Linked DNA regions of Homo sapiens: all the other regions are linked to region 4. The links are contacts of gene promoters, found by promoter capture Hi-C in blood cells and fetal thymus (Javierre and others, 2016). All regions are on one chromosome and are shown on one strand. Each heading gives the region's core, a stretch centred on a gene start or on the middle of the fragment in contact. The rest is flanking DNA. Distances are from core to core; before and after follow the strand shown. Region 1 has its middle 18 kb from the start of NR2F1. Region 2 overlaps NR2F1-AS1 (NR2F1 regulatory antisense RNA 1). Region 3 overlaps ARB2A (ARB2 cotranscriptional regulator A). Region 4 holds the start of MEF2C-AS2 (MEF2C antisense RNA 2).

What was found. The method cuts DNA at HindIII sites, captures the fragments that hold promoters and counts their contacts. A CHiCAGO score of 5 or more calls a contact.
Region 1: a fragment that was not itself captured here is called in contact with the fragment with the promoter of MEF2C-AS2 in region 4 in 2 of 17 cell types (naive B cells and total B cells); the score reaches 30.3 in naive B cells.
Region 2: a contact is called between a fragment that was not itself captured here and the fragment with the promoter of MEF2C-AS2 in region 4, in 2 of 17 cell types (total B cells and naive B cells). The highest score is 12.4, in total B cells.
Region 3: a contact is called between a fragment that was not itself captured here and the fragment with the promoter of MEF2C-AS2 in region 4, in 2 of 17 cell types (total B cells and naive B cells). The highest score is 10.5, in total B cells.

Annotation. Positions count from the first base shown.
Region 1 is chr5:93,599,690-93,602,389 of GRCh38, forward strand. No RefSeq gene overlaps it. Among named protein-coding and RNA genes, the nearest start is that of NR2F1, 18 kb to the left of the region's middle. RefSeq lists an enhancer at 1-202. The HindIII fragment of the contact is 1,003 bases long and covers 831-1,833 here.
Region 2 is chr5:93,565,492-93,568,191 of GRCh38, forward strand. The region is part of intron 1 of NR2F1-AS1 (NR2F1 regulatory antisense RNA 1); the gene reads right to left. Among named protein-coding and RNA genes, the nearest start is that of NR2F1-AS1, 14 kb to the right of the region's middle. The HindIII fragment of the contact is 4,981 bases long and covers 1-2,700 here.
Region 3 is chr5:93,615,868-93,618,567 of GRCh38, forward strand. ARB2A (ARB2 cotranscriptional regulator A) reads right to left here. Exons shown (of 11, transcript NM_032042.6): 11 at 1,858-2,700. Among named protein-coding and RNA genes, the nearest start is that of MIR2277, 3.6 kb to the right of the region's middle. RefSeq lists an enhancer at 2,267-2,700. The HindIII fragment of the contact is 1,708 bases long and covers 551-2,258 here.
Region 4 is chr5:88,674,878-88,677,577 of GRCh38, forward strand. It overlaps MEF2C-AS2 (MEF2C antisense RNA 2), which reads left to right and starts at 1,341. Exons shown (of 4, transcript NR_146284.1): 1 at 1,341-1,386. The region is part of intron 1 of MIR9-2HG (MIR9-2 host gene); the gene reads right to left. RefSeq lists enhancers at 313-412, 850-1,415. The HindIII fragment of the contact is 5,913 bases long and covers 1,229-2,700 here.

The sequences.
Region 1 (2,700 bases), core at 82-2,581, 4.9 Mb after region 4:
CCCGCTCACCACCAGGCCTCCTCTCCTTTTGTCTTCAGATCTGGAGGAGAAAAAGATTTCTCGGTGGAAGCTGGAGCCTGAACTTCCATGTGGTTGTTGGAGATTCGGTGCCTAAAAAAAGACATACCAGGATCTTGCCTGATCTTTCACTCTGCTTTTAAAAACTTTCCTCTTAAAGAGGGAACTTTTTTGCTTTTCTCTCTCAAAGTATAATATGCTTGTTGAAACTTCAAACTTAAATGGGAGAGAAAAATTCTCTGAAAATATTTTGCCATTTTTCCTTGTTTACACAAAGAGAGGTGGATGTTTACATGTTTGATTCACATACACATGTAAAGCTGGTACTTTCGGTTAAAACTTTCTAGAACATAGCAATCAGGGGTTGTTTGAGCTTCCCACCCCGCTTTCTTTCTCTTGGTCATATTTTATTATGAGATAAAATTCATTTTGTTTTCTGTAATAAGCATCTTGCTCATTATTTTATTGCTCTCCATTGTTCTTTAAATGAAATACATCTTAAAATTACATAGATCTAGTTTTGTATTAACTATCAGAAAAATGCAATTTTAGAAATTTCTATTGTTGTAAGAAGCATTTAAAAATTATGCTCAATCATGCAGTTTTAATGACCTTACACCTATTTGGGGGAGAAGTGTCTTTTAGCCATATCTCAACGGGGATAAATATGTATCCACTTTGCTCTCCCAGATCCTGTTCCTTGAACTCCATCAAACTAGGCAGATAGTTTTACATTGGAGTGTACAAATTATCCCATGTTGACAGATGTTTGTCACTTAGTAACTTCTTTCCAAGTTTTTCCCCCTCCCCTAAGCTTTCTTTCCAGCTTGCTTTGTTGTTTTAAAATATGCATGTCTCTCACTGGAATGCCAGTCACGAGTGCAAACTTTGTGTCCAGCCTCCCACATGAAATGATCCTTTTAAAGGGAACTCGATATGTCTCAATCTGCACTTCACTCAAAGCCTCTGGGTACGGGCCACTCACTCACTGGTCCTGGCTCCAAAATAACTCAGCAGAAACGAGTTTCCAACTAAAAATCCCCTCGAATGTCTCCCAGGGAAGAAATATAGCTCCTATAATTAAAGGAGGCAACGGCCAGAGGGGGAGTGCAGCCGGCAGCCAAAAAAGAAAAGTAAGAGTTTTATTTATTTGCTGATTGAACTTGGGTTGTCATGACCAGCAGGTTTATCCACATTAGAAGTGCTGGAGGTTTGTACTATATGTGCACAGGAGGTAGAGGTGGGGAGAAAAGGAAGGAGAAGGAAAGTAGGAAGAATAACAGACCAGGCCAATTTTGAAGGAGAGAAAATGATCTCTGTGGGACAACGTAAATAAACTTCCTAGCACTGGATTTGACTAAAAACTTGTAGCTGAGGAATATGTGGAGAGGGGTTCAGAGGAGATGGGGGGTAATTATAGTAAACTCTTAGATGTGGGGTATCATCAGGAAAAGGAGGACTCTGTTTTCCCCAGAAAAGTAATGTGACAGCAGGAAATTTATTAGCTGTGCTGTGTGTGGCGGTTAGGTATGTGGGGGGTGGAATTATGGAGGGAGGCTCCAGAGAAAGGAAGAAGTTCCAGGACTCAAAGCAGAAGTGTCATGGAACCAGGAGCCCTCCACTCTCCTTGACAAAAGTTGCCTAGGAGGTGTAGATGTGAAATCTCTAGAAGACATTATCTTTGCACCTTATTAGTTTCATCTATTTGAGCTGATTCTGGCATTAGAACCACATATAAAATGAATCAGCGCACAGGATGAAGAACACCTCCCCACCTCTTGGGCCACCCTCCAAAAGGGGGTAGTAGTGATTATAAGCTTCAAAACACAAGGAGTACTCAGCCTGGGCAGCCCATTTCTATTAAAGAGGCAAAACTTTAGTACTGATGAAAAACAGATGATTTTTTTCTTCCTCTCTGAAACAGTTACTCTCTTTTACTGATGTGAAGTGACGTCAGCAATGCCTGCCCTATCCCCTTGGAGAGAGGGGAGAGAGGAGGAGGGTATGGAAGGAAGGAGCTGGGAGAAAGAGCAAGAGAAAAAGAGAAAGAGGAATTGACAGAAGAGGAAAAAGGGTGGTGGGGGGAGAGAATGAGAATGTATATCCTACACTTTGGGGGGCCAAAAATCCACAAAGAGTGGGCAAAACAATGCTTTAGAAGCCTGTGATTGATAAGACACCTTTCCTTGCTCTCACCCGATCTACATATTCTAACATATGGAAAGCTTAGAGGCCCTGTGCACTTATAGAAGCCGATAATGCATTAGCTCTCAGCAATATTTACAGCACCACTCTTAATACACACCAGATGGTTCGCGACTGTGCCGCCTCAGCCAGCTCACTCCTCGATTTTACTCGGCGGCACTTTGTTGCAATTACGCTCCATGCTGAGACCAATTTTATTGGTGACCTATTTTTCATATTTGCAGCATTTTATGTTAAAAACCTCCTCTCTGGCCTTTTTGTTAAGGGCAGCGCTCAGGAAGGGAGAGTTTAGGAGGACAGCGGTGCTGAGGGTCTGTCGAGGTGGATATTAATATTTATCGTGATGTTACATACCTTGGGTTTAAGTGAGTAAACCGGATAGACATAAGTACTCCGGTCATTATGTTTGTTCACTAACCCCTGTTTGTCAGACCCCCACGGACTCTACACGGCGCGCTTGCCTCAGAGTCAATACAT
Region 2 (2,700 bases), core at 163-2,662, 4.9 Mb after region 4:
GCCAAATTTAGGATAATTATCTTTTCAAGAAGCCATAAAGAAATATATTCTGGAAGGCTTCAATTGTACTGTTAATATTTTATTTCTCGAACTGGGTTTGGGGTATATGGATGCTTATTTTTCTTCATATACCATTTTGTATGAAATACTTTCTAGTCTTTTTTTATGTAATCACCAAAACATCTTTAATCAAAAGGTAAAATAAATGAAAACACTTCTCTGGAACTTTAAAGGTCAATGAAAATAGTTGTGTATGGTTTCAAATATTCTCCTGCTGAGTTTAAAAGGTAAATATCACTGTGTCCCCCAACATAAGAAAAAAAAAGCGTAATGTGCTAAAATATATATATATATAACTATTTCTAATCTAACTTAGTAAAATATAAAAGTACTACACAAATAGCACAAAACACAAAATAAATTTTATTACTAATAGCATGATAAACCCATTTAAGACTATTGAGAGACATACTTAACAATCTGTACTTTAAATACATTCAAGAGTCACATCTAGTAGCCTAGTGTTTCATCGTCAGATTGGCTGGTTGTTTTTATTGAAACAAATAAGAACTGCAATAATTTACCTAAAGTAAGCAAAGGCCTATCTAAATATCTACATAGAACCTATGTGTAAAAACTAAGTGCCTCCAAAATATCTGAAATTTTCCAACAAGAAAGTACAGGTCATTCAGCAAAATATATTTACTGTATACTACCATAATAGCTATTTAATTGTTATCATTATGATGTAGATATATAATGGAAACAGATGTTCCTTTTTCCTTTCAGCAAAGCAAAGGGAAAGTATAAACTTGCTGATATTGCATAGACTACTACCATAGCACAATAGAGGAAAAAAGACATTAGCACATGACAATATTAGTTTTTACTACACAACTAATTGCATAAAAAGTATAACTTGAGATCATTAAATCAATATAATTTTCAGCACTACAGAAGAGAAACAAATAGATGTGTATAACCAGCCTATTTCACATCTGCAGTTGGGAAAATACTTCTGACAGATTAAATATATGCAAAACGCTACCACTGCTTTCAGAACACAAGAAAAAGAGTGTTGTTCTGTTTTCTTTGCTCATGTAACATGAATTAGAATGCTGCCTCTACAGAGGAATTTTTTTTAAGTACCAGTATAAATTGGTAGAACCTTTCTGGAAAACAATTGGGCAATCAATATCAAGAACCTTAAAAAACAGTCTATATTCTCAGTCTAAGTAATTTCTCTTTTAATAACATATTGTAAGGAAATAACCATAGGGATGGCTAAAGATTTATTTAAAATGCTATTCATTACAACTTAGTTTATACAAATGAAAATTAAACATCTGAGTTGTCTAATAGAGCAATAATTAAAGTAGATATGTTAAAACATTATAGAGTCAATATAAATGACTTTAATAATTTTAATCATATTACATTAAATGCTTAGAAGAATAAAGTTTAGAGAAAACCTTATTATACAAAATGGCATTTCTAATTTTTGTAAATTCTGTCTTATGGGCATATACTACTTTTATCAGAAAAAGTTATTTTTTCTTTAAACAGTTCTATTTCTATCATCTGATATTCTCAGTCCAAAGTTTCTAAAATTCTTTGGGCAAAAGAGTCCTATAAATATTTACAGGTAAATTGACTTAAAGTTATGTTGATATGTTATTTGATCCTGAAATCTGGCACAGAAAAAGAAGTATTTGTCAATCACATAGACAACACCTTTTTTTTTCCTGGGTTAAACGGAATCCTTACAAATTAGGGAAAATTTTTATGGAACAAACATTACAAATGCTTCCTTAAGATCTATTAATATGATATGTAGTATGTTGCTAATTCAAGGAAATTTTCAATTACAAATATTTGTAAAGCAAATGAAGTAGCCTATTGATTGCTGTTTCAGTATGCCAGTAAAAAAGTTTGCCATAGCTTTCCTAGGACTCTTAGTTTCCTGATTTTATTTTTACAAGAAGAAGCTGATTTGTCTTAGGCTATTACTGTCTATTACTTGTAGAAGTCTTGAGCAAAGGTGGGAAGCAGCAAATTCTGGCAATCTGCCTAAAGAGAAATCAATGAAACAAATTAATCCTTTGCAGGCTGCAATGACACAGTAATCCATCATTCAGAGCTGTTTTTATATACCAAATCAGAGAGCAGAGGAAAAGAGCCCTGGGGGATATCACAGGCAACAACTTACACCAACACTGAGAAAATACTGAGGAATCAGTTTATTTAAAGAGGATAGATTTCAGTTGATTGCCTATTTCGTCAAATAAAGATTTTTCTTCCACAGTGTGGTGAACCCAAGGGCCAGTGACTGTATCTTCAGAATTCAGTACCATCTATGCTGGCTGACACCAATAGGAGATGAACGTTTTTAAATAATTAGCATCATTAATCAGTATGGTCAAATATCTGGGTAAAATAAATATTACTTTGTCCATCCAACTACAAAGTGTTATACATGGTCCTTGTTTTCACCAGAAACTAAGTGTAAATTTACCTACTAATCTACAACTTAACTGACTAATTCCTGGTACACCATATTTGAGGTACTTCTTCACACATAAAATGTAACCATTTAAGATATATGTTACTTCCTAATGCTGTGTTAAGTTTAAAGACTTAAAATTTTTAATTCAAGCTCTTGTGTAAATTCCAGCAAGCAAGTCAGATTATAAATAAATG
Region 3 (2,700 bases), core at 155-2,654, 4.9 Mb after region 4:
TGAAATTTGGGGGTTAGTTTTCTCTTCAGACCAGAGCATATAATTATGCAAATAAAGAGCTGTCACTGATCTAGTGAAATACTCACAAACACATGCACTCTGAAATTGGACAGAAAAGTGAAAATGGTTGGTGATGTGATGGTGCCATGGTTTGTTTTCCTGCCAAGTTTCTATCCAAATTCATTATTCAAATTGTAAACTTTAAAAGGAGATATATCATTCTTGGGGTGTTGGTTGTCTTTTCATTTCAGATTCTTTGTATTGGTATTGCAGGCTGGCCACAAAGTACAGTTCAACATTATTTTACCCATGACAGTTCTCCATATTACCCGAGGTAATAGCCAAGGAAGAAAAAGATGAATGATCTAAAAGGAAAGATGTAGGACTTCTCTAGATTTCTTTCTAGAAACATGCTTCATGTCTGTTTCAAACAGAACTCAACTCCAACAATATAAAGGATATAGTGAAAGGTTTTTCACAAATCTCAAGGCGAAGGACTGGGAAAAGTTGCTTAGAAGGCCTCATGGACTAAGTCAAATTTCCACTTTCAAGCTTTTTATATTCCAGGGGAAAATAGTGGTCACTGTGTGGTATCCACTTCATGGTCAAACTTTCAGGATGACTTTCTCCCATCTAGCAATTAAAGCCAACTATTTAATATTTGGTGATTTTAACCTTTGTGGTTCATTTTACAGTTATTACTTCTCTAAAACCTTTGTGCTGGGAATTAACAAGAGTTCTTCAATCTAATCACGCTCTTTGGCATCAAGGTCTCCCAATTCTAAAGTTACCATTGCATAGGCTGTTGCATAATTTTAGACGTCATGGAGAGTCCCACTGATGAAATCTGAGAAGGCTCATGTCAGACCACTGACTGCTAAAGACATCACTACATGAAAGATCAGTAGTGTGAAACTTTAAAAACATCGATCCAAATGAATCAATTAAATCAACATTCATCCCTCTTAAGTGTGTGGTTTAAAACTATCATTGTTGCTTTTTTAAAAAAACCTTACATAGATTTTGAGATAAATGCTGGAATGCTTTGATGGCTACTTCTATTCTCGAATCTCCGTTAATCGACTTTGTGCTATTCCCCTCTTTTCAACATCTTCCACTTGGTGTACATTCTTTACTTTTAGTACAGTGCATGACAGTTGCAATGCTTTAAATCTAAAACCGCCTAACAAAGCTGACGCTTTAGGTAGGGTAGCTTTAAGCTCTGTGAAGTGTTGATTAAAAACCCTTTCCCAGACTCAAACTGATCTTTTTGGAGATTAATAGAATATTAGATAAAAGGAAGACGAACAATTCAAGAGACTCCCACTCAGTCATTCTATATAAGGAAGGAAGGAAAGTATTCAATTTTTGAAAGGGAGTACCTCCTGGAGTCTTTTATTTTATATTATTATGGCCACTAATAAGTAATAATAAAATAACCACCACCATCATCCCCCTTTTTGCCACCCATATTTCAAAGATGAGAGTGTCTCACATTTAAAGACATTTTTTTTTCTCCACAGAGGCATGTGGAAAGTTTTTGAGAAATTTTTACACTTTCTGTAGTAGTACTCTTTCTTAAATGAATTAGGATTACAGACACCAACAGGAACCTGTCAGTTTACAGTAAAAAATATGATTATAACAAGAGACACACGTGTTTGGATTGAACCGCAGATAATCCAGAGAAACAAACAAAATCTAACTTATTAGCACGGATAATACAGTTAGCATATCTCTAAAAGGGGCTAAAGGTTTTAAGAAAGCTGTAAAAGAAATGTAAGTTATTTTCAGATCGAACACAGTACATCAAGAACCTATATACATGTACTTGGAGGCAACTTAAACTCACCAGACTCCTCTTGGAAAACACATTTATTTATGGCATATTCAAGTGTATTTTATAAAACAACAATTTAATTGATAGGTTGTTCAGATTTCCTTGCTAAGGAGATATTTTAGATATTAAAAACAACTGTCTTAGAAATGTTAGCTTTGTAAAAGGTGCAAGCCAAATAGTGACTCAACTAAAGTTAGGATATTACCTTACAGCAATACTAACAGAAATAAAAAGTAGCCAGAAGGTTTAAAATATTGACGGATGCTGTCTCATCCTTCCTTTTATGTTTTTGCTTTAAAAAATCTCTATGCAATTGGTGAATAAGCAAGAATTCTTCTGAGCAAGAATAATAACACCGCTGTTGTTGGGAAAATTGTTTTTATTTTAAAATGGAAATGGAAATATAATATACAGGAAAAGCTTGTGCTTTCCTTTTTTTTTTTTACTTCGCATAAACAATAATAATGCAATCCAGGTCAAAGCACGAGGCAGAAACTCGAGAAAAGAACAGTTATTAAAGGTACATGGTCTTCTTTTCAAATATCCATGAAAACATTTAACGACGGGATGGCTAGTACCTATAGAAAGCTCCAAAGCAATAATCTGGCCTTTAAGTTTCGACGGGACTATTTTGAATCTTAGATTTATCAGTCACTCCTTTCCCATTCTACTTGTTCTAAGAATTAAGTATATAATTAAAATAAAAAGGCCACATCCTGACTTTAAATCTCCACTCTCCTAAAAACCTGTTTGAGGAAACAAAAATGGGGAAGAAGATCAGAACAAAAATATTGTTAACACTGGCCGTCCTCATGCAGGTGGGCTACTACCAACGCTGGTTGTTACTCCAGGAAAATCGA
Region 4 (2,700 bases), core at 91-2,590:
AGGAGGGGGCGAGCAGAGGAGGGGGCGGATGTGCACAGGGAGGTGCCAGCGGTCCGGTGCGCGGGCACGCACACGCCGGCGCGCAGGGCTGCCGCGGGCGGAAGGAGGGGAATGACAAGGCCTCGGCCGCGTCTCGGAGAGGCACTACCTCCGCGCTGAGGCCGCTGAGTTTCAAGTGCAAAACACCAGGCCAAATCCGGCAAGGCGGCGGCTACAGAATGGCTCACACTTCAAGCCTCCTTCCTCAAACAATCCGATGGGAAGGACCTGGCTGTTCAGGGGAAGCCTTTGCTGGCCTCTCTTTTTACATGGGGTGAAGTCGAACCCCAATCTAGGAGCCCTGGCCTAGATGGCTCCGCAGATGAGTCCCAGACGTGGCCATGGAAAGACTGATCTCTCTCTGCTCAGAGCGCCTGCCTCGGTGCTCACTAGCGCAAGCACCTCCCAACACACATACATACATACACACACACACACAACACAGCACTCCCATCACATTAAAACGCGCGCTCATGATCCTGCCGTTAATGAAGCCGAGGCGCATAATGAGTGCACAGGTAAATAGGTACCGAAACCAGAAGACTTCACCAGTCGGCTGGGCGATTTACCTCTCCCTACAGGGAGCACTTGTAGTTATCGTGTTTTAGGAGTGATTTGCTGTTGTCTGTGGTCTCTCGCTCCTCTTCTTGTGGAGAGAAGCCAAAAAATATATATGTTCCGTGGTCAGAGTCTTCTTTCTGATAAGCTACCCGAGCATTGGTCTAAAACATCTGTTTTATCTGTTGATTTTGGTTTGTTGTTTTGGGGAGTGTTGCTTTTCTGAGGGAAGCAAAAGAACGTGTGTGTGGTGGGGCTGGAAGCTCAGGGCAAGAGTCTGCGTGTGCGGCCGGAAGGCTGGCGAGTCTGAGAGCCGCGCGGTGCAGAAAGAAGGCGGCGGCTTGTCCTCCCCCGGGGCCGGCACTGGTCCCTTGGCACCCCGGCCTGGGCTCGGCTACTGCCGCCGCCGCCCGCGCTCTCGGGCTCCGCCGGCTGCCGCTCCGTGTTTTCCCCCATCCCGGCTTCACGTTCAAGGTTTAGCTGCGAGGTCACGTCCATTGACGTCAGCTCCCTGTCTCCCTCTACGTCCGGCTACATTTACATACATCAAGGAAATTAGGGCATTAAAAAAATATGCAAATCCTGCGCGAAGAGGAGCGGGTGCATTCCTGGCGCGATCGCCTTTTATTGAAGCTTTTAATTAAAGGGGCCAGTTGGCGAGCCCCTGAAACAACCGCCAAAACCCCCCAAAAGAGAAAAATAAACGCTGTAGCCTTCGAGAACGGTTGTTTCGGCTCCTGTTCTGTGGGCGGCTGAGGACCGCCGGCTGCCCGGCTCGGAGAAGAACAGGTTAGAGGAGGCAGCTCCAGCCCATGCATAATCAGGGCTCCGCGGCGCCTCCATTCTTTCCTCCTCCTCCTCCTCCTCCTCCTCCTCCTCCTCCTCCTCCTCCTCCTCCTCCTCCTCCTCCTCCTCTTCCACCTCTCCTCCTCCTCCTCCTTCTCCTCCACCTCCTCCTCCTCTTCTTGCTCTCGCTCCTGTTGGTTCCAGCGTGTATTATTTTTAATACTGATGCATATGTAAAGGTATATTTGCATTTTTTAATTTGCGAGAATTTCAGATTTTGTCATTTTATTGGTTCCCTTTCCCTCTTTTTTTTTTTGGAGGATTTTTATTGTTGTTATTTTATTATGTCTATGTGTCTCTCTTGTCCCTTTCTGTCTTTTTTGGCGAGTGTCTGCTGCTGTCTCTTGCTAGATAATATACACAGTTACCTCCCTGCTTCTGTTTATTTAAGGTTACAAATATGCACATCTGTCATGTATGCAATGCCAGCTGTATAACCTCCTGGTTTGGTCATAAAGGAAAATACACATTTTTTTTTCTTTCTTGACATACCTTGATGGGCTGTAGTGCCCATCGCTCAAGGCTCAAAGTTTGATTGTCTAATTAACTTCATATTAGCAGAAACACAGTTCGGGGCCAGTGCTTTCGAGATAATGTATGTATAAGTGAAGTGATTCCAAAGATTTCTAAATAATTTTTGTGCTGATTGCCTGAGAGGTGCGGCATTCCCCGCCCTATTGCTTTCTAGCATTTCTTATTGAAAAAAATATATATATTTTAAAATGGGTAGACACAGCAATGGACAGCCTTCTGCAAGGAAGACATTTTCAACCATGTTGTATGTTGTACCTTATTGGCTGCATTCAAAATTTACTGAGTTTCATTTTTATCTTAATATGGCTGGAAACAAGGCACATTATCTTGACTGAAAAGCATCCTTGATTCCTGACTTTGAAATGAAAGCAAATACACAAATAAAACAATTGGCTATATTAAACCAGTTGATGTGGCTTAAAATATACAGGCCTTGAGTTAGATTTCAAGCAATGGTAATCTTGTTTATAGGATCGGATTCTCTTTCTTGGCAATATAGCTATGCAGCACGATGGCTTTTTTCCACCTTTTAATTCCCCCAAGCTATCATTTAAAAAAGACTCAATCTATAATTGCAAACCCTGAAAGAACAGCAAGTATGCACACATGCAGCTTATTCAATTAAACAAGTCCAAGTACATGCACAGGTAATTAGTTTTCTTATGAATGACTTACCTGCACAGATACTCAGGCCAAGACTCAGCCCTCCCCAATGGCCTTCAT